Regions from separate parts of the Homo sapiens genome. Here all the other regions are linked to region 2. Evidence: promoter capture Hi-C in 16 types of primary human blood cells and fetal thymus (Javierre and others, 2016). All regions are on one chromosome and are shown on one strand. Each heading gives the region's core, a stretch centred on a gene start or on the middle of the fragment in contact. The rest is flanking DNA. Distances are from core to core; before and after follow the strand shown.

What was found. The method cuts DNA at HindIII sites, captures the fragments that hold promoters and counts their contacts. A CHiCAGO score of 5 or more calls a contact.
Region 1: a contact is called between a fragment that was not itself captured here and the fragment with the promoter of OTUD6B in region 2, in 9 of 17 cell types (total CD8 T cells, total B cells, total CD4 T cells and 6 more). The highest score is 13.0, in total CD8 T cells.
Region 3: a fragment that was not itself captured here is called in contact with the fragment with the promoter of OTUD6B in region 2 in 4 of 17 cell types (total CD4 T cells, naive B cells, total B cells and 1 more); the score reaches 8.1 in total CD4 T cells.
Region 4: a fragment that was not itself captured here is called in contact with the fragment with the promoter of OTUD6B in region 2 in 6 of 17 cell types (total B cells, neutrophils, naive B cells and 3 more); the score reaches 7.8 in total B cells.
Region 5: a contact is called between a fragment that was not itself captured here and the fragment with the promoter of OTUD6B in region 2, in 2 of 17 cell types (neutrophils and activated CD4 T cells). The highest score is 5.7, in neutrophils.
Region 6: a fragment that was not itself captured here is called in contact with the fragment with the promoter of OTUD6B in region 2 in 1 of 17 cell types (activated CD4 T cells); the score reaches 6.9 in activated CD4 T cells.
Region 7: a contact is called between a fragment that was not itself captured here and the fragment with the promoter of OTUD6B in region 2, in 1 of 17 cell types (total B cells). The highest score is 7.0, in total B cells.

What each region holds. Positions count from the first base shown.
Region 1 is chr8:89,789,630-89,792,631 of GRCh38, forward strand. It overlaps RIPK2 (receptor interacting serine/threonine kinase 2), which reads left to right. Exons shown (of 11, transcript NM_003821.6): 11 at 450-1,435. The coding sequence ends at 787. Among named protein-coding and RNA genes, the nearest start is that of RIPK2, 33 kb to the left of the region's middle. RefSeq lists a silencer at 579-779. The HindIII fragment of the contact is 1,194 bases long and covers 880-2,073 here.
Region 2 is chr8:91,068,600-91,071,883 of GRCh38, forward strand. OTUD6B (OTU deubiquitinase 6B) reads left to right here and starts at 1,745. Exons shown (of 7, transcript NM_016023.5): 1 at 1,745-1,867; 2 at 2,539-2,690. The coding sequence starts at 1,786. OTUD6B-AS1 (OTUD6B antisense RNA 1) reads right to left here and starts at 1,590. Exons shown (of 3, transcript NR_110438.1): 1 at 1,332-1,590; 2 at 980-1,223. RefSeq lists an enhancer at 1,793-1,972. The HindIII fragment of the contact is 11,349 bases long and covers 1-3,232 here.
Region 3 is chr8:89,731,391-89,734,763 of GRCh38, forward strand. The region is part of intron 1 of PARAIL (palmitic acid regulated anti-inflammatory lncRNA); the gene reads right to left. Among named protein-coding and RNA genes, the nearest start is that of PARAIL, 25 kb to the right of the region's middle. The HindIII fragment of the contact is 9,223 bases long and covers 1-3,373 here.
Region 4 is chr8:89,828,986-89,831,880 of GRCh38, forward strand. No RefSeq gene overlaps it. Among named protein-coding and RNA genes, the nearest start is that of OSGIN2, 72 kb to the right of the region's middle. The HindIII fragment of the contact is 6,814 bases long and covers 1-2,895 here.
Region 5 is chr8:89,713,856-89,717,085 of GRCh38, forward strand. No RefSeq gene overlaps it. Among named protein-coding and RNA genes, the nearest start is that of PARAIL, 42 kb to the right of the region's middle. The HindIII fragment of the contact is 6,818 bases long and covers 1-3,230 here.
Region 6 is chr8:89,228,907-89,232,208 of GRCh38, forward strand. No RefSeq gene overlaps it. Among named protein-coding and RNA genes, the nearest start is that of PARAIL, 530 kb to the right of the region's middle. The HindIII fragment of the contact is 464 bases long and covers 1,560-2,023 here.
Region 7 is chr8:89,748,745-89,751,745 of GRCh38, forward strand. All of the region lies in intron 1 of PARAIL (palmitic acid regulated anti-inflammatory lncRNA), which reads right to left. Among named protein-coding and RNA genes, the nearest start is that of PARAIL, 7.5 kb to the right of the region's middle. The HindIII fragment of the contact is 321 bases long and covers 1,215-1,535 here.

The sequences.
Region 1 (3,002 bases), core at 227-2,726, 1.3 Mb before region 2:
GATGGGAATGATGACATGGCCCAAATGGTATTCTATGAACATCTAAATAGGGAGGCAGTGCTAAGAGGAGGTATTAACATATTACTAATGGTAAAGTTATTTTTGTTTATTTAAAAAATTTGCAGGTATCTTTTATATTTGAAATAAAATGGACATCAAACAAAACTGAACAAATCCCAGAAGATGGAAATGATGACATAAAGTGGTTTTTGCCCCGTGATTTATACCATAGGAAAAGGCAATGCCTTTTCTGGGGAGTGAGGGGGAGATAACCCAAATCTCTGAATGTTTCCTGAAAAATGACACCATTCCCCAAAGTGTTGGTGTTCCATATTGGCACAATCATAGGAAAATTATGTTTTATGCTTTATTTATTTTTCATGGAATTTTACTTATTGCTATGTATCTGTCCTCACCTTTTAAATTATTCATTCCTTGTTCTTTTTCAGAACGTCTGCAGCCTGGTATAGCCCAGCAGTGGATCCAGAGCAAAAGGGAAGACATTGTGAACCAAATGACAGAAGCCTGCCTTAACCAGTCGCTAGATGCCCTTCTGTCCAGGGACTTGATCATGAAAGAGGACTATGAACTTGTTAGTACCAAGCCTACAAGGACCTCAAAAGTCAGACAATTACTAGACACTACTGACATCCAAGGAGAAGAATTTGCCAAAGTTATAGTACAAAAATTGAAAGATAACAAACAAATGGGTCTTCAGCCTTACCCGGAAATACTTGTGGTTTCTAGATCACCATCTTTAAATTTACTTCAAAATAAAAGCATGTAAGTGACTGTTTTTCAAGAAGAAATGTGTTTCATAAAAGGATATTTATATCTCTGTTGCTTTGACTTTTTTTATATAAAATCCGTGAGTATTAAAGCTTTATTGAAGGTTCTTTGGGTAAATATTAGTCTCCCTCCATGACACTGCAGTATTTTTTTTAATTAATACAAGTAAAAAGTTTGAATTTTGCTACATAGTTCAATTTTTATGTCTCTTTTGTTAACAGAAACCACTTTTAAAGGATAGTAATTATTCTTGTTTATAACAGTGCCTTAAGGTATGATGTATTTCTGATGGAAGCCATTTTCACATTCATGTTCTTCATGGATTATTTGTTACTTGTCTAAGATGCAATTTGATTTTATGAAGTATATACCCTTTACCCACCAGAGACAGTACAGAATCCCTGCCCTAAAATCCCAGGCTTAATTGCCCTACAAAGGGTTATTAATTTAAAACTCCATTATTAGGATTACATTTTAAAGTTTTATTTATGAATTCCCTTTAAAAATGATATTTCAAAGGTAAAACAATACAATATAAAGAAAAAAATAAATATATTAATACCGGCTTCCTGTCCCCATTTTTAACCTCAGCCTTCCCTACTGTCACCAACAACCAAGCTAAATAAAGTCAACAGCCTGATGTGTATCTTTCTGTCCCTTTCTTCCTGCTTATATTTAGAACATATGCTCATTTGAGAAAGGATCTTTCTGCATATTATTATTATAATTATACATCATACTGCAACCTGCTTTTTGCATTTAATAGTACAGCCTTCCAGATCAGATATGGCTCTAACTTACTCTTTTTACTTGCTGCCTAATACCCACAGTTTTTATTTTCTTAACTTGTCCATATCAAATTTAGCCCAAACAATAAAAGTACGGTGTGAGCACTTTTTTGGTTAATAGGTTATATTACTATAGGAGAACTTACAAGGAATAATAGCCCTTTTCTGAAACTGCGTAGCGAAGTCAGCAGAAAGTGAGATACAGAATAAATTTGAAAAGATGAACTTTCAAGAAGCAACAGACCCACAACCTGAAAAGTTTGAATAAAAGAAATTAGATGCCATTGAGGTAATTAAATATTAATTAGAAATATAAGCATTTTAATCTCCATTTTAGAGCTTGACATTAACTTGTACCTCTTACTGTGCCTTTCAGAAATATGGAAATTAATAGGGAAAAGTGAAAACTAAACACATGAGTTATCTATTAAATTTTAAAAAGCATTAAGATGCAAATTTTATTTGTGAAGTAATAAATAGAGAAAATTATTTTGGAAGCTTTCCCTTTTCTCTATACATACTCTAAAAAGAAATTATTTTGACTATTGATGGCCTCAAATTGATGTTTATACTGATTTCATGAGGTATATCTGGATTGATAAAATGAACTTTGCCTTGTTTTTTATTCTCTGCAAAGATCTAAAAACTCATAGTTTGTGTGCTTTATGGCTATGTGCTTACAGTCACTTTCTCCCACAATTTTCTGTATGGAAGACACGTGTAGTCATCCGTCATCACAGCTCTGCAAACTTTTTCTGCGTAAATAATAACATGTTGATAAGTAAGAAGATGTTGTCAGGGATTAAGATGAATCTGCAGTGAGCTCTCATCATCTCTTCATGGGATTGTTACAATCTCAGCAGTTGGTTTTTATTATAACCCCTATTTAGTAACTGCTACTTAGAGGAAGATGAGACAGATTATGCTGAGTATGACTAGTTAGTGTAGAACAGGGTCTGGCATAGAGTAGGCACTTTTTGAATAACTCTTTAATGAATAGTGCAATGGAATGAAAACATAGAGAAGGGGAGATGTTTCCTTTAAATCTTATTTCCAAAAATGTAGTGCAAGCACAGCTAGTAGTAAGTGGGATTATTTTAGGTCATATGTAGGCTCACCACTAAATGGCATTTGAGTCACTTAGTAAAGGACATTCTTTTCCGTTCTTTTTTGAGCCTTATAATTAAATAAAGGAGAATATCTCAATTTTTTTGCTAACATCTTTTTATCCCCCTCGTTAACAAAATGAGAATAGGCTTTAGGCTCAGAACTTCAGAGACTATTTACCAAGAATTTTATGGTTTTTTTTGTTGCATTCTATTTGAAATTTATACTTCTACATATGACAAGTAATAGTTTTCTGTTTATACTAAAGTTTTATTACATAATATTTAAATAAAGACAATTTAAGTACTATTAAGTAAA
Region 2 (3,284 bases), core at 495-2,994:
TTATTTTTTTCCTGCTATACTTAAAAATAAGGGAAATAAAACTGTACTGTTTTCCAATTGTCAGATTTGACATTTAGAATGTTATTTGTCAAATCTACAGTGACAAAGCCCTTTTACTTAGGTTTAGCTTAAGAACATGCGTATTTGTATCTACAATACTACATGCTAAAAATAAAACAGTATTTGTCCAATATATTGAACATGTGGTATGCCCTTCCAGTTTAAACGTAAACTGAAATTTTACACCCAGCTTATGTTTCTATTTTTGTATTTAGTTTTAATGCCCTATACATAACAATTTAAACTTAATGCTCCTTAACTAGTTTTAATGCATACCATCAGTTCTTTCATACAATTGCCTCCCTATTCTTATTTTAATTCAGGTTCTCTGTTAGCTGCAGTAAATCCTTCAGCAAAATTTTCAGGGAAAGTTCTTGGTTGATATACTTTCCTAACCCCTGTATATCTAAGAATGTCTTCCAGTTTCCTTTGTAAAGAAATGATAACTTGGCAGAGTATATAATTCTTGGCTCAAAATTATTTTCCCTTAACACTCTAGATATTGTTCCACTGTCTTCTGGCATTTAGAATTGCAGGAGAAAAATCTGAGGTCAGCCTGACTTTTGCCCCTTTGTAAGTAACCTGCTTTCTCTGACTGGATGCTTGTAAAATGTTTCGTCTTTGAAATTCAAAAACGTCACCCGGATATGTCTAGATGCTGCTTTCTTTTCATTAAACTTTAAAGGTATCCTATGAGCCTTTTCCATTTGTAGATCTAGTTCGTTCTTCAATTCTGGAAAATTTTTTCAAGTAGATCCTTTATTGTTTCAGCTCCACTTGCTCTGTCCTCAGTTTCAGGTATTCCTATTATGCATAGATTGTATCTCCTGGACCGGCCCTCTAGATCTCTCTTTTTCTCCTCTTAATTTCTTTTCCCCTTTTCTCTGTATTCTGTGACAATTTGTCGTTTTGCACTTACTTCAGTAATTCGATTTTGTGGCCAATCCAGCGTGCGCCCTTCTGTTAACTCTCTCAACTTCCTGGTATTTTCCAAGCGCTCTAATAGTACCCTCTTTATCATCGCGCATAGGTGTTTAAGCTCCTGTATTATATGATTCTCAATCCTTCTTATATCTTGTTTCCATCTCTATATCCGTTTCAAGAGGAGGCATTTTCTCGATTATTTAGCGCTGCTCCTTTTTTCTCAGGGGCGGTATTACGACCTTGGAGACAATAAACATAATTTAATTCCACACAGCCCCAAACAGCCCAAAGATTCCCATTGATAATTATCGACGGCTTTATTAAAATGCGTTATTTTTCTTTCTTACCTTTTCAGTTGCTTTTCTTAGAAACAGGGACCAAAATCAAAGATTAAAGAGGTCCTCTGAAGCAGGGAATGAAATAGACGTTGAAAACTATTCCCGTTACGCCATCTCTGCGCGCCTCACGTCAGGGCCAAGAGCCTAGCGCGTAGCTTTATGGCTGACTCGGCTCTGGCGCTCTAGCCAATTCCGAGGCTGCAAACTCCGCTTCTCCGCTCGCAGTCTGGTTCCTCCCCTGCCGCCCCGCCCATCACGGCAGGGTCACGGTAGCGCGCACGCGCAGCACCCCATTTAAGTTTCTCGTCTTTGCAGTGGCTTTGCTTAGATCCGGTGCCGCCTTGAAGGCGGGGCTGGGTCCCAGCCGTAGCCAATGGAGCCCCGGGTGAGGGTTGAGGGGTGGAAGGTGCCTACTAGCCGGTGCAGGTTTCTTCTAGCGCGTGTGCTGGGGTACCTGGTCGTCATGGAGGCGGTATTGACCGAAGAGCTTGATGAGGAAGAGCAGCTGCTGAGAAGGCATCGCAAAGAGAAGAAGGAGTTGCAAGGTGAGGCGGAAGGAAGTGGGAATCTGGAAGCCGCCGCGACTGGGGGAAGGGCGCGTGGCGGGTCGATTCTGGGGAATCTCAAGGCGTGACTTATCTGGATCACCCTAGACTTCCCCTAGTAGCAAGTGGCCTCTTCTCTCTTCACCTACCCCGGCGGCCCTTTAATTCCCCAACCTTCAGAGGCTTCCCCTTCTGAGGCCTGCGGCGTGCCCCCTACCCCGCGCCGCCGCCGGGGTGCAGGTGTCTGAAAATACCTAGAAGCCGCCGTCTTGGTCCGCTCCCAAACCCACGATGCCTCCCTTTTCTATACCTGCCCCAGTTACCGATACTTGTCCCTAATGGGTGTATTTTGAATGGACCCGCCTCAGTTTAGGAGGTTCAGAAAGGATACCGGAAAGATTTAAAACTGGCTACAGTCAGGTTTTTTTCCTTCTCTTATCTCGCCAAACAACCGAAACATATTCAAGATTTTGTTAATGAAGTTTTTTTTTTTTTTGGTCTCAGCTTTATCTGGGATCTTCTCTCTCTGTAGCTGCCTGTTACGTGATGACTCTTTCTTCCATAATTACTTTTTCTGTACCCTTCGCCCGTTACCATCCCCTTATTGGTTCCTGTTTCTCATCTCCTTTTACTCCTGCGTGTCTGACTTAATGATTTTAATGGCTTTTCAGCCAAAATTCAGGGCATGAAGAATGCTGTTCCCAAGAATGACAAGAAGAGGAGGAAGCAACTCACCGAAGATGTGGCCAAGTTGGAAAAAGAAATGGAACAGAAACATAGAGAGGAACTGGAGCAATTGAAGCTGACTACTAAGGAGAATAAGGTATGTGAAATAAATGTTTGTCGTTGCCTACACCATTTGAAAACAGCTGTCCACTTCTGTTAAATGTTAAACTGCTTTTTTTTTTTTTTTTGAGACGGTGTCTCGCTTTGCAAAACACGCTCAATCTTGGCTCACTGCAAGCTCCGCCTCCCGGGTTCAGGCCATTCTCCTGCCTCAGCCTCCCGAGTAGCTGGTACTACGGGCGCCCGCCACTACGCCCGGCTAATTTTTTGTATTTTTAGTAGAGACAGGGTTTCACCATGTTAGCCAAGACGGTGTCGATCTCCTGACCTTGTGATCCACCCGCCTCGGCCTCCCAAAGTGCTGGGATTACAGGCGTGAGCCACCGTGCCCGGCCCTGTTAAACTGTTTATTATCTAAAATCATAAAATTGGTAGGGAAATGAAATCACTTAGTTATGCTCATGCATCACTTCTCATTAATGTTTTTGTGACCAAGTTTACAGGGCAGTGTGTTTCTATAAGGGAGATCGGCAAAGAAAGTGCTATACTTCTTTACCTATTTACTTGCCCAAAAGATGAAGCTTCACCAAATCAAAGTTGGAAGACCAGGCATCTGATCCCAGAATTGCGA
Region 3 (3,373 bases), core at 819-3,318, 1.3 Mb before region 2:
AGATCACCTGAGGTCAGGAGTTTGAGACCAGCTACAACATGATGCAACCCCATCTCTACTAAAATACAAAATTATCCAGGCACTGTGGTAGGCGCCTGTAATCCCAGCTACTCGGGAGGCTGAGACAGGAGAATTGCTTGAATCCGGGAGACGGAGCGAGATCACACCATTGCATTCCAGCCTGGGCTACAGAGCAGGACTCTGTCCCAAAAAAAAAAAAAAAAAAAAAAAAAAGATAGGTTACATATTATCAGTGTACAAGAAGGAGACTAGAGAAGGAAAGAAACCGAAAACATATTCAAAGAAATCGTAGCAGAAAAATTCCCAAGACTGGAGAAGAAAAGAGAAAGCCAGATCCAGGAAGCACAAAATACACCAAATAAGATGAATCAAAAGAGACCCACACCAAGCTATATCGTAATCAAATTGTTGAAAGCTAAAAGCAAATGCAGTGTTAAAAGCAGCAAGGGAAAAGTGAACATCATTTATAAGGGAACCACCATGCAACTATCAATGGATTTCTCAGCAGAAACCTTGCAGGCCAGAAGAGTATAGAATGATAGATGCAAAATCCAGAAAGAAAAAACACTGCCAGTCAAGTATATTATACCAAGCAATCCTATTTTTCAAAATGAAGAGGTGATAAATACTTTCTCAGACAAAAAAAGATGAGAGAGTTTATCACCACTAGACTTGTGTTAAAATGTCAAGGGAGTTCTTCAAGCTGAAGAGGACACTAGTTAGTAATACGAAAACATATGAAAGTATAAAACCCGGTAATAAAAACAACTACACTGTCAAAACCAAAACACTGCCACTGTTATGGCAGTGGGTAAATCCATTATATCTCTAGTATAAAGGTTAAAAGACAAAGCTATTAAAAACAACTAAAGCTGCAGTAATTTGTTGAGGAATACAAATTATAAAAAGATGAAAGTGAGACATCAAAAACATAAAATGTGAGAGGAAGGGGAGTAAAAGTTTAAAGTTTTATATGTGATCAAAATTTAGTTGTTTCCAAGATAAATACCACATTATAAGATGATTTATGTAAGCCTCAGGATAATCACAAAGCAAAAGCCTATATTTGATATACAAAAGATAAAAAGAAAAGATCCAAAGCATACTACAGCAGAAAGCCATCAGGCCACAAAGGAAGAAAGCAACAGAGAAAAGCAGAAACAAAGGATTTACAAAACAACCAGAAAATGATTAACAAAATGGCACTAGTAAGTCTTCACCTACCGATAATTACTTTGAATGTAAATGGACTAAATTTTTCAATCAAAATGCACAGAGCAAATGTCTGCACTAAAAAAATAAGACCCAACTGTATGCCGTCTACAATTCACATCATCTTAAAGGATACTCATAGAATGAAAATGAAGAGAGGGAAAAATATATTTCATTCAAATAGAAAACAAAAGACAGCAGGGGTAGGTATACTTATTTCAGAAAAAAATAGACTTTAAGTCAAAACTGTAAAAAGAGACAAGGTCATTATACTGTGGTAAAGGGTTTAATTCATTAAAAGGAGCAAACAATTGTAAATATATATATGTAAATATATACATAAATGTGTGTGTGTGTGTGCACCCAATAGCAGAGCATCTAAATATATAAGGCAGGCCGGGCATGGTGGCTCATGACTATAATCCCAGCACTTTTGGAGGCCAAGGCAGGAGGATTACTTGAGCCCAGGAGTTCAAGACCAGGATGGGCAACATAGGGAGAGCCCAACTCTACAAAAAATTTAAAAATTAGCCAGGTATGGTAGTGTACACCTGTGGTCCCAGCTGTTTGCTTGGGCCTGGGAGGTCAGGGCTGCAGTGAGCTGTGATTGTGCCACTGCATTCCAGTCTGGGCAACAGGGCAAAATCCTGCCAAAAAATAAAAAAAGATGGAGAAATAAAGCAAACATTAAGAGATCTGAAAGGAAACACACTGCAACACAATAATAGGATATTTCAATACCCCACTTACAACAAAAGACAGATCACCCAGAAATAAAATCAATAAGGAAACACTGGATTTGAACTATACTTTAGACCAAATGGGCATAATAGACATGTACTTGACATGCCACCCAACAGCAATGGAATACACATTCTTCTCAAGTGGATGCAGAATATTCTCCCAGATATATCATGTGTTAAGCCACAAAGAAAACTTAACAAATTTAAAAGTATCAAAATCATATCAAGTATTTTTTCCAACCAAAATGGCATAAAACTAGAAGTAAATAACAGGAGAAATCAGGAAAATTGCCAGCTGTATGGAAAGTAAACAATATGCTCCTGAACAACTATTTGGTCAAAGAAATTAAAAGGGAAATTTTAAAATGGAAACACTAAGTCAAAAATGGAAACACAACATGCCAAAATTTATGGTGGTAGCAAAAGCAGTTCTAAGAGCGAATTTCATAGCAGTAAATCCCTACCTCAAAAAAATGGAAAACTGCAAATAAACAAACTAATATTCCACCCCAAGAACTAGTAAAAGAATAACAAACTAAGCCCAAAGTTAGAAGAAGAAAAAAATAAGAAAGATCAGGGCAAAAGTAAATAAAATCGAGACTAGAAAAGTTATACAAAAGATGAATGAAACTAAGAGGTTTTTTTCTGAAAAGGTAAACAAAATTGACAAACCATTAGCTAGACTAAGAAAAAAAGGGAGAAGACTCAACCAAAACTCATTTCAAAAATGAAAGAGGAGACATTGCAACTTATTACACAAAAACAGAAAGCATCATAAGAGACTAATATAAACAATCATATACAAACAAATTCGACAACATACAAAAAATTAATAAATTCCTTGAAACAAATAGCCTACTGTATTAGTCCGTTTTCACGCTGCTGATAAAAGACATACCCGAGACTGGGCAATTTACAAAAGAAAGAGAAGTTTAATGGACTTACAGTTCCACGTGGCTGAGGAGGCCTCACAATCATGGCAGAAGGCAAGGAGCAAGTCCCGTCTTACATGGATGGCAGCAGGCAAAGAGAGAGAGAGCTTGTGCAGGGGAACTCCCCTTTTAAAAACCATTAGATCTCATGAGACTTATTCACTATCATGAGAACAGTGCAGAAAAGACCTGCCCCCATAATTCAATCTCCTCCCACCAGGTTCCTCCCACAACATATGCGAATTGTGGGAGTTACAATTCAAGATGAGATTTGGGTGGGGACACAACCAAACCATATCACCTAGCAAGACAGAATCATAAAGAAATCAGAAATCTGAACAGACCAATAATGAGCAAAGAGATTGAATTAGTAGTCAAAAATGTCCCATCAAGGAAAAGCCCAGACCCAAATGGCTTCATGGTTGAATGCTACCAAACATTTAAAGAACTAATATCAATCCTTCT
Region 4 (2,895 bases), core at 4-2,503, 1.2 Mb before region 2:
TAATTTGTGCTCAGTCATTCGGCACTCACTATGTGCTAGACACTGGATGTTATCACAAGATGGGGTGGAGATTGATCTTGGACAAGACATACAGCAGCCAGATCATCTTTTTAAAAAGTAAATCACATCATTTTACTCTCCTATTCAACAACCTCCAAAGTGTGCTCCCCTTGCAAGCATAATAACTATTGTGGGTTCTTAGCATGACCCACACTGTCCAATATGATCAGTTCCCAAAAAATTTCGACAAGCTCACCTCCTGCCACATGCACTTACTCCCTCTGGCATTTTTTCTGTTTTGTAGGACAAACCTTTGGCTTCCCCAGGGGATTTTCTCCCTCCACCTGGAATGCTCATTCCTCATCATTTAGGTCTTAGCTCAGATGCTTTCAGAAGCCTTTCATTATCACCATATGAGAGTAACCCTCTTCCCCCAACGCCCTGCCTTAGACAATCTCAGTCTCATCTCCCTGTTTTTCGTTGTTGTTTTTTTTTCCTTTTTTTTTTTTTTTTTTGAGATGGAGTTTCACTCTTGCCACCCAGGCTGGAGTGCAATGGCACCATCTTGGCTCACTTCAACCTCCACCTCCTAGGTTCAAGTGATTCTCGTACCTCAGCCTCCCAAGTAACTAGGATTGCAGGCACTCACCACCACGCCCAGCTAATTTTTTGTAATTTTAGTAGAGATGGGTTTCACCATGTTAACCAGGATAGTCTCAATCTCTTGACCTCGTGATCCACCCACCTCGGCCTCCCAAAGTGCTGGGATTACAGGTGTGAGCCACTCTTAGGCCCCATCTCCATTTTACTCTCATAGTATTTATTACAATCTTAAAATGCCCATTTCTTTGTGTTATCTGCCTCCTCCAACAATACTCCACAGAAACAGAGATCTTATTTGTCTCTTAGACACTGCTCTAGCTTCAGCATCTAGAAGACTTGGCAATTATCTATTGGCTAAATGAATAAATAATGACCTTGAGAGTGAGTAAGCTGAGGGATGTTCATGATCACGAGAAGTGAGATTAGTTTAAAGAGCTTTCCTGGGTAAGAGTAAGCTCAGAGTAGGAAACTGAAAGGCGGATTGATGAAGATATAAATAATAATCCATGAGGAACTACATTATAAAAGTTTCTTTAAAAAGATTCTTAACATAGTAAGCATGACTGTATACATTGTGAGTATACAAACCTGGAAATTTATACCAGTGAATTTAAAATTGCATCTCTATAACACCATAAATCAATTTATTGTTTTGGCAAAGTATGGTAGCTATGCTGTCTCTTCTGTTGGAAGACATCTTTCAACTCATTATCTATTATTCTTTTAGCTACTGATTCTATGCCAGGCTCTCAATTATAGGATTCATGTGCTTAAGGAAAATATAGCCTGAAAGACCAAATCCAATCAAAGTAGGTAAAATATATACTGTCTGAAATTGCCTCACCATATGGCTTGAGAATTTCTCAACTAGCATTTATTTATGCATTATTTGTATGGTTTTTTATTTTTAAAATTTCCTTTTTTTCTTTGTTCATACCGAGTCCTGCACGTCTTATTAATTTTTTAAATAAAAGAAATACCTATGAGAAAGAGGCCAGGCATGGTGGCTCACGCCTGTAATCCCAGCACTTTGGGAGGCTGAGGCAGGTGAGTCACCTGGTTTCAGAAGTTTGAGACCAGACTGGCCAACATGGGGAAACACCGTCTCTGCTAAAAAAAACACAAATATTAGCTGGGCATTGTGCTGCCACCTGTAATCCCAGCTACTCGAGAGGCTGAGGCAGGAGAATCACTTGAACCTGGGAGGCAGAGGTTGCAGTGAGCTGAGATCGCGTCACTGCATTCCAGCCTGGGTGACAGAGTGGGACTCCATCTCAAAAAGAAAAAAAAAATACCTATGAAAAACAAAGACAACTTTTTAAAAACCTACTCTTTATCAAACATACATACCTAGGAATTTATCGTAAGGATAAAATTTAACAGAATTGAAAAGATAAGTGTGGCAATGTTAACTTGTTAACTATACTCTTATTTGTAAGAATAAAAACAAACAATAACAAAAGAAACTATGCATCAACTTGGAGGAGAATTCCGTGGCTTATAAAAATGATATCCCAAAAAACATAGAAAAATATTTATGATTACATATCAAATGAAAATAGCAGAGCCTGACATGGTAGCCTGCGCCTAGGATCCCAGCTGTTTGTGAGGCTGAGGCAGAAGAAGCGATTGAGGCCAGGTGCAGTGGCTTACGCCTGTAATCCCAGCACTTTGGGAGGCCAAGGCGGGCAGATCACCTGAGGTCAGGAGTTCGAGACCAGCCTGGCCAACATGGTGAAACCCTGTCTCTACTAAAGATGTGAAATTATCTAGGCATAGTGGAGGATGCCTGTAATCCCAGCTACTTGGGAGGCTGAAGCAGGAGAATGGTGTGAACCTGGGAGGCGGAGCTTGCAGTGAGCCAAGATAGATCGCGCCACTGCACTCCAGCCTGGGTGAGAGAGAGAGACTCCGTCTCAAAAAAAAAAAAAAATTGATTGAGCCCAGGAGTTTTTGAGTCTGCGGTGAGAGCTATAATCATTCAACTGCGCTCCAGCCCAAGTGACAGAGCAACACCTCGTCTCTTAAAAAGAAGAAAGAGAAAATAAGAGAATACAAAATAACATTAGTAGTATAGCATGTTGGGTCAAAAACAGATTTTTGGAATATGACAATCCTGATCCAAATCACATTTAGTTACTTAGGAACTATGTGACTTTGGGCATGTTCCTTATCCTTACTAAGGCTCTGTTTTCTCATTTGTAAACTAAGAATACCAATAGCACTAATTCTATCACATAGGAACAATGCTTTTGTTAACTGGAATTCACATTTAAAAATTTTATCGGAATG
Region 5 (3,230 bases), core at 272-2,771, 1.4 Mb before region 2:
TGCTGCTATAAAGACACAGGCACAGGTAAGTTTATTGCGGCACTATTCACAATAGCAAAGACTTGGAACCAACCCAAATGTCCATCGATGATAGACTGGATTAAGAAAATGTGGCACATATACACCATGGAATACTATGCAGCCATAAAAAATGATGAGTTCATATCCTTTGTAGGGACATGGATGAAGCTGGAAACCATCATTCTCAGCAAACTATCACAAGCACAAAAAAACCAAACACTGCATGTTCTCACTCACAGGTGGGAATTGAACAATGAGAACACATGGACACAGGAAGGGGAACATCACACACCAGAGCCTGTTGTGGGGTGGGGTGGGGAGGAAGGATAGCATGAGGAGATATACCTAATGTTAAATGACGAGTTACTGGGTGCAGCACAACAACATGGCACATCTATACATATGTAACTAACCTGCACATTGTGCGCAAGTACCCTAAAACTGAAAGTATAATAATAATAAATAAATAAAAGATGTCGAAAGGGGTTGCAGTTATCTAAACACTTTACTGGTGCTGCAAAATTTGCTTCCAAGATGGCTCACTCACGTAACTGGGAAGTTGATGCTGGGTCTTGGCTGGAGACTTCAGTTTCTCTCCATGTAAACTCTCTGTAGATGTGAGCATCCTCAGGACATGGCAGTTGGGTTTTCCTCAGAGGAGCAATGCAAAAAGGAGCAAGTTGGAAGCTCCAATATCTTTTTGACCTAGGCTTAAAATCCATACATTGTCAGTTCTCCATATTCTATTCTTTACAGAGTTTGGCCCTATGCCATGCAGGATGAGACTATATTAGAGTTGAACAGTAGAATGCAGAGACTGTTGGGGAGCATCTTAGAAGCTGCTTAACACAACTATGGTAAGTTACAGTGTCCTTATCATATACCTTACTTCTATATATGTTATAAAGCCAACAGTACATTATTTCTATTTTGCTTTAAGCAGTCAATTATCTGTTAAAGAGACTTAAAAACTAAGAAAATTAAGTATTTTTCATGTATCCATATATTTATGATTTCTGGCATTTTTTATTCCTATGTGAATACACAAGTTTCCATCTGGCATCATTTTCCTTCTGCCTGAATAACTTCCCTTAATATTTCTTATATTTAGTTTGCTGACAATGAATTTTACCTCTTTTGTTTGTCTGGAGAATTGTTTATTCACCTTTATTTTTAAAAAATCAAAAACCTGGACATAGAATTCTAGATTGACAGGTTTTTTTTCTTTCAACACTTGGAGGACTGTCATCCAGTTTGTGTAGTTTCTGATGAGAAGTTTCTGTTGAGACAGTGCCTTTTTTTTTTCCTCTGGCTGCTATTATGATTTTTCTCTTTATCAAAACTGGTTTTCTAAAATTCAATTACAATGTGTATTGGTGTGATTTTCTTAGGATGCTTTTCCGTCTTAGGATTCTTTGAGTTTCTAGGATCTATGAGTTTATACTTTTCATGACAGTTGGACAAACATTTGGCCATTATGTCTTCTCTTTTTACACTCCTCCACCTTGCTTCAGTGGTTCCAATTATATTAGATCTCCTGACTTTGTTCCTGAGGTCACTGATGCTCTGTTCATTTTTCTATTAGTCATTTTTCTCCCTGAGCTTCATTTTTGATAGATTCTATTGCTCCTTCAATTTCACTCATCTTTTCTTCTGCAGTATCTAATCAGCTGTTGATCCCGTTCAATCTATTCATTTCAGAGATGAAATGAAGAATCTATTGTATTTTTCATCTCTATAACTTTGATTTGTCTTCTTCTATTATCTATATCTCTCTTCATCATGCTCATGCTTCCCTATACCTTACTCATGATGTGAAGCATATTTACAATAGACAATTTTAGTCATTACATCACCTCTGTCATTTCTGGTGCTGTTTCTATTTATTGACATTTTTCTTCTGATTATGGGTTAGGTTTCTTATTCTTTCTACTGTCTGGTAAATGTTTTATTGCTTTGCGACATTGAAACCTCACTTAATAGGGTGGTAGATTTTGTTGTAACCCTTCTAGTAGTCTTAGGCTTTGTTCTAGCACGCAGTTATGTTACTTAGTAGCAGTCTACCTCTTTTGAGGCTTGTTAGGGAAATCCAGAGTATATTTTAGTCCAGGGCTAATTTAGCCTCACTACTAACTTCACTACTGAGGTATTCTTCTGAGGATTCTATTCAATGCCCCTATATAATACAGTGTAATAAGGTCTTTCCACTCTAACTGATGGGAACACAAACTCTTCCCAGCCTTAAGTGAGCTTCAGGAATTATTTGGCTTATTGCCTCCCAGCAGTTCTTACCCCTGCCAGGGGTATCTTTCTCTCTCACATGCACATACCAAGGCTCAAGGGACCCCTTTGTGATCTCTGGGTATATTCTCTCTTATCTCTCTCTCTCTCTCTTCACCAACCCCCCCCCCCCACCCAAAATCTCTATCCACTTTAGTCTCCATGAACTCTAATTTCTAATCCCTCCACTAAGGTAGACTGCCAGGATCTGTTCGAGGTTTCCCTCTGATATGGTTTGGCTCTGTGTCCCCACCTAAATCTTATCTCAAATTGTAATCCCCCATGTGTCAAGAAAGGGACTTGGTGGGAGGTGACTGGATCATGTGGGCAGTTTTCCCTATGCTGTTCTTGTGATAGTGAGGGAGTTCTCATGAGATCTGACGGTTTAAAAGCGGCAGTTTCCCCTGCACTTTTGCTCTCTCTGTCTCTCTCTCTCTCTCTCTGTCTCTCTCTCTCTCCTGCCACCTCTTAAAGACATGCCTTGCTTCCCCTTCACCTTCCACCATGATTGTAAGTTTCCTGAGGCCTCCCCAGCCATGAGGAACTGTGAGTCAATTAAACCTCTTTCCTTTTTAAATTACCCAGTTTCAGGTCATTCTTTATAGCAGCGTGAAAACAGACTAATAAACCCTCCATCTATTAAAGCTCGAAAACTGCCTCTAGGTGGCAAGCCAAGCTGAGGTAATAATAAGGTTCAATTTGTTTATTATGCCTGAAAACATTGTTTTGTCCAATTTTCTATTTGTTTGAGGTACACAGTAAATGTAGTCTCTGTCATCCCATTATAGCCAGAGCAGAAATGATCTCCAGAAATCTTTTTTAAATGTCAAATTACTTGCTGGATACCTCTTTTTACAAATATAGGAAGATACCTCTACTTCCAAATATAAGACGCATATGAAACTTAACATATATAAAGTTTAACTCTG
Region 6 (3,302 bases), core at 542-3,041, 1.8 Mb before region 2:
ATCTCCTCAACACACAGTCACAGCCTCATGCAGACACATACAGATTTTCTCATTTAATCCTAGGATCTTAATATCTTAAAATTTTTTAAATATATACATATTTGAGAAAAACTTGGGACCTCAAATTTAATTTTATACCACAATATATCTTTCCAGCAGACTGGAATCTGAGGAAGGAGTCATATTGAGCAATAATAATTCCTTGCTTTCTGTTATTTAGTTCCTGTAGCACCATTACTTTCTGTTATTATTTTTAAATTAACTTTTACTTTTGCAACAGGGAAAAAAGCAACATAAATCTTTTCCTAACTCGCTGGAATACTACAGTCCCTGTTGTGGCAAGAAAAGAAAGAATGTCACATCTCTACATACTATACACATGACATTGTTTATACTTCTCAAAGCTTTATTTTCTGCTAATTCCAAGTTTTTCCCCAATATAGCCACCATATGCAGGGATGCTTGACCTGTCTGGAAAACAAGCACCCAGAGTAATCTAAAATAATGTCTCTAAAAAGGAAATTTGATTATGATTAATCCTTGTTTTAAACTCTGAAGTAGAATAACAAAGAAAATAAACTAGATTCCCTGTTCACTTTGTTTGCTTTACTGATTACTGGAGTCCGTTTAACAACTTTTTTTTTTGAAAGGGAGTCTCGCTCTGTCGCCCAGGCTGGAGTGCAGTGGCGCCATCTCGGCTCACTGCAAACTCCGCCTCCCGGGTTCACGCCATTCTCCTGCCTCAGCCTCCCGAGCAGCTGGGACCACAGGCACCCGCCACTACAACCGGCTAATTTTTGTATTTTTGGTAGAGACAGTGTTTCACTGTGTTAGCCAGGATGGTCTCGATCTCCTGACCTGGTGATCCGCCTGCCTCGGCCTCCCAAAGTGCTGGGATTACAGGCGTGAGCCACCGTGCCGGGCCGTTTAACAATTTTGAGGTCAAATAGCACTGCTATGTTTTAGCCATTTTGAATTGATTTCTCATATGCAATTTTCTAATGTGCAAAATTAAATGCATTGTACACACTTAAACACACTGAAGACCTGTTAACTAATAGCAAAAGTGTTTTGCTTTAAAAGCAGTTACATAGATAGTGTGGGAATTTTAAAGCAACTATTGTTCTTTACAGTATACATCCTAAAGATATTAATAATCAAATCCCAGCTTATAACCTTTGTGTATGTCTATAGAAATCCTCGTTGGTATAGAATATAAATAACAAGAGACTAAAATTGGAGACATTGGTAAGAGATATTGACTTAACTTGTTTTACAGTGTTAAAACAGCACACACACACACAAAAGACCTTCACCTCCCAATCAGATGCAGTTGATCACAGTGAGGTCAACTCTTACTGCCACAACTAAAGAAAGCTGCATAAATTAAAATTCATATTTTAAAAGACTTCAAGGATTTCTAAAAGCAAGGAAGATTATTCGATTAACTAAACTTCTAGAAAGATGTAACTTTTCAAGATAAGCTGATGATTACCAGATGTTTATTTCTCTGCAGGGAATCCGGAAATCTTGTGTGTAGGATGACTGTGCTTGTCTAAAGCTTCTAAATGTCCCAAGCAGAAAGTTCTCAATAGGGAAAAGGGACACCAAAACTGTGTTAAGCAGCCACAAAGAACTGGAGAGGAATAAATGAAGTTTAAAAGTTCTAAAATTCTAGCACTATTGGGGAAATTATAAAAGCATATTCCATACTAGATCATAATAAGACAAGGATAAAGTTATAATTTCTAAAGTTGGCATAAAAGAACAGTGACAGAATGTATAACAGGTTAATTAAATAAAAGAGAGGGAATGTTTAAAAATATACATCTGGTTATCTAAAAGAAAGAAAGAAGAAATTGGGAAGGAACATAAAAGAAATGGGCCAAATACAGAATATTAATAAGATAGTGATATAAACCCAAATACAACAATAATTAAGTTAAAAGTAATTGGACTTCACATATAAATTTTAGAGGATGCAAACATTCCATCTCTAACACCTGATTTTATGATAAAGGTAAGCTTAAGAGTAGAGTGGAGGGAAAAGTACATTCTTTTAGAAAAATGGCCCTAAATCATTTCAATATGCATTGGGGAAAATCGTCTGAACCACTATGTGGCCCAGGTGGATTATAGGTACAAATGTGAAAGTTAAACAACAAAATTTCTAGAAAAAAAATAGAGGAAGACTACTTTGTGACTTCAGAGTAGGTGAAGATTCCTTCAAGAGGATGCAAAAAAAATACTAAAATGGGATTTAAAATATTGATAAACTGTACATAAACGACACCATTAAAAGAAGGAAAAGTCAACCCAAAGACTAGGAGAAGATAAAAGATACTTATAATTTATATATTCAACTGATAACTCATATCCAGAATACCTAATAAATATCTATAAATTAATAAGATGAACAACCCAGTAGAAAATTGGACAAAAGACTTGAAAGATATTTACAAAAGAATATATTCAAATGGCTAGTATACATGTGAAAAGGTAGTTAGTAATCACGGAAATGAATTGGGAAATCAAACATATCACAACACATTTCCATAAAGGCTACAATTTTATAAAGAAGAAAATATAAGTCTCACAAAATTTGGAATACCAAAATCCTAATGGATTCTGGTATAAATATAAATCAGAAAAATTGCTTTGGAAATCCTTTTGTCTGCTATTGCTGAAGATAAGCTTATGCTATGACCCAATGTAGTGTATAGCAGAAATGAGTACACACGTATTTTGGTCATTTGGGCTGCTATAACAAAATAAGATAAACTGAGTGGCTTATAAAGAACAGAAATGTATTTCTCACAGATCTAGAGTCTGGGAAGTCCAAGATCAAGTCACCAGCAGCTTTGGTATCTAGTGAGGGTCTGCTTTCTGTTTCACAGATGGCACACCTTCTCACTGTGCCCTCATATGGTGGGAGGGGTCTCTCTAGGGCCTCTCTTGTGAGGGCAACAGTCTCACCTATGAGAGCTCCATTTCCATGACTCAATCACCTCCTAAAGGCCTATTTCCCAATATCACCACCTTGGGGATTAGGATTTCAACATATAAATTTGGGGGGACATGAACATTCAGACCAAAGGAATACATAAACCAAAAGACGTGTACCAAAATGTTCATAGTAATGCTTGTGTAATAGTCTGTACTAGCAACACCTAAATGTTCATCAATAAATAAATACATACATACATTTTGGTGTTCACGCTATTGGACAGTATACAGAACAGGGAATAAATTATGTACAACTACATTTTACAGTGTGGATGAACTCCACAGTAGTACATTGA
Region 7 (3,001 bases), core at 125-2,624, 1.3 Mb before region 2:
AAAGTTTACAGTGTTAAATGCCTGTATAATAAAAAAAGAAAGATCACAAATTAATAGCCTAACATCACATCTCAAGGTGTTGATTATATATAAAACAACAAACCAAGCCCAAAGTTAGCAGAAGAAAAAAAGAAAGATTATAGCAGAACTAAAAGAAACAGAGACACAAACAGAAACAATAGGAAGGGTCAATGAAACAAAAGGGCTTTTCTTTTTTGTTTTGTTTTGTTTTGTTTTGTTTTTGGAGACCAGGTCTCATTCTGTCACCCAGGCTTGTGTGCAGTGGTGCAGTTATGGCTTACTATGTCCTTGAACTCCTAGACTCAAGCAATCTTCCCACTTCAGCCTCCTGAGTACCTGGGACTATAGGCACAAACCACCATGCTCAACAAATTTGTAAAAAATTAAAAAAAAATGTTTTTCAGAGATTGGACCTTACTATATTACCCAGACTGGTCCTGAACTCCTCTGGTCTTGACCTCCCAAAGTGATAGGTTTACAGGTGTGCGTGATTGCACCCAGCCAAAATACTGCTTTTGAAAAGATAAACTGTTTACAATAATTGAGGAGGTGAGAATTCTTCCTAACTCATTCTATGAAGCCAGTATCATGCTGATACCAAAAACATATAAGGACACAAGAAAAAGAGAAAACTACAGATAAACATCCCTGATTAACATACATACAAAAATCCTAGGCACTGTACTAGCAAGCCAGATCAAACAGCACATCAAAAAGATAGTACAGCATCATCAAGTGGGTTTTATACCACATATACAAGGATCATTTACCATATGTGAACCAATTAATGGGCTTCATCACATAAACATAATTAAGGAAAAAAACATGATCACCTCAATAGATGCAGAAAAGGCATTTGAAAAAATTCATCCACACTTCATGATAAAAAGCCTCAACCAATTAGGCATAGAAGGAATATACCTCAAAATAATAAAAGCCATGTATGCCAAACCAACAGCCAGTATCATACTGAATGAGGAAAATATGAAAGCATTCTCTTTAAGAACTAGAAACAAGACAGGGATTCCCACTTTCGCCACTCATATTCAGCATAATACTGTAAGTCTTAGCCAGTGCAATTAAGCAAGGTAAAGAAAATAAAAGGCATCCAAATTGGAAAAGAGAAAGTCAATATATCTCTGTTGATGATATGACCTCATATCTAGAAAACCCTCAAGATTCGATAAAAAAAAAGCTTAGATTTGATAAATGAATTCAGTAAAATTTCAGGATAGAAAAGAAATGTACAAAAATCAGTATCACTTCTATACCCTTATAATGATCAAGGTGAGAACCAAATAAAAAAAGGCAATTTCAGTTACAATAACTATGAAAAAATACATTCCCTCTCACTTGGCTGTGGCATGGCACTGGGACCACCCCTCCATCCCTGTGCTGGGACCTTGGGGCAGCAGCATTGCACCACTCCTCACCTGGGCATTTCTCCAGGGACCTGGGGACTGCCCTCTGATCCCCATTGGGGCTGGAAGCCACCATTGAAGGAACTGAGTGCAAGCTTTACTGGTCCAGCTCTGCCCAGCTGTGCATCCCTCTCCCTCAGACAGTATGGTATCCAGACCACTGAGCATTTCATGGACCAATCAATCATCTGGGACACCTAAGCACTTCTCTGGGATAATGAAGGTTGAGCATAAACTGTACTCAACAGGTGAATGGTTAAAACACTGTGATACACTATACAATGGATACTATTTAGCAATAAAAAAAGAACCAAATACTAATTCTAAGCAACAATTTGGATGAATCTCAAGGTCATTATGCTGAGTGAACAAAGCCAATCTCAAAATATCACATACTTTATGATTCCATTAATGTAATAGAGTAGAAATAGATTAGTGATTAATAGGGATTAAGGATGGTGGGAGAGTTAGGGGGTGAGTGTGAAAGTAAAGAGTATAAATGAAATCTTTTTTGTGGTGGGATAGTTCTGGATCTTGACTGGGGTGGTGATAAAGGAATCTACACATGTGATAAAATGACACAGAACAATATATATATATTGGATGAATGCTATATTACTGGTTTTTATATTGTATTACAATTCTGTAAGATATAACCACTGGCGGGAACTGAATGAAGGATACATGAGACCTCTCTGTATTATCCTCGCAACATCCTATAAATTTATAATTATCCTAAAAAGTATTTTTAAATTGTAGCTGAGTATATTAGATTCCTGGGGCTGCCATAACAAAACTACACAGAATGGTTTAAACAACAGAAATCTATTGTCTGGAAGCTAGAAGTCCAAAATCAAAGCACCAGCAGAGTTGGTTCCTTCTGATGACTATGAGGGAGAATCCATTCCATTCTTCTCATTTAGCTTCTGGTAGTCTAGTCTGTTCAATAGCTTGCAGATAGTGTTCTCCCTATGTCTTCACAGTATCTTCCCTCTATGCATGCTTGTCATGATGTACAAATTTCCCCTCATTATAAAGACACTGTCAGGATTAGGTCCCATCCTAATAACCTTATCCTAATTTGATCAGCTGTAAAGATTCTATTTCAAAATATGGTTGGTCACGGTCATCGGTATTGAGGGTTAGGACTTCAACATCTTTTTGGGAAACATGGTTCAAACAATAACACTGGGTCTAAAAGAATCAATTGTACAAGAGGGAAAACCTGTTTTAAAGGCACTTCATTAAGAGAAAAGGATGAAGAAAGAAGAGGAAGGGGGTGAGAGGGAGGGGGAGGAGGAGAAGAAGGAAAAAAAGGAGGAGAAGGAAACGGAGAAAAGAAAGAAAGAAAGAAAAAAGAAAAGAAAGAGAAAAAGAGAGAGAAAGAGAGAGAGAAGGAAAGACAAGAAAGAAAGAAAAAAAAAGAAAGAAAGAAAGAAAAGAAAAGAAAAGAGAAAAGAAAAGAAAAGAAAAGAATTTAGGCCCAACCTAAATGAATAGTTTAGCAGGGCCGTCTTCCATTGCGTGAATAGATTCAGATCAAAGACAGGTATAGCCAC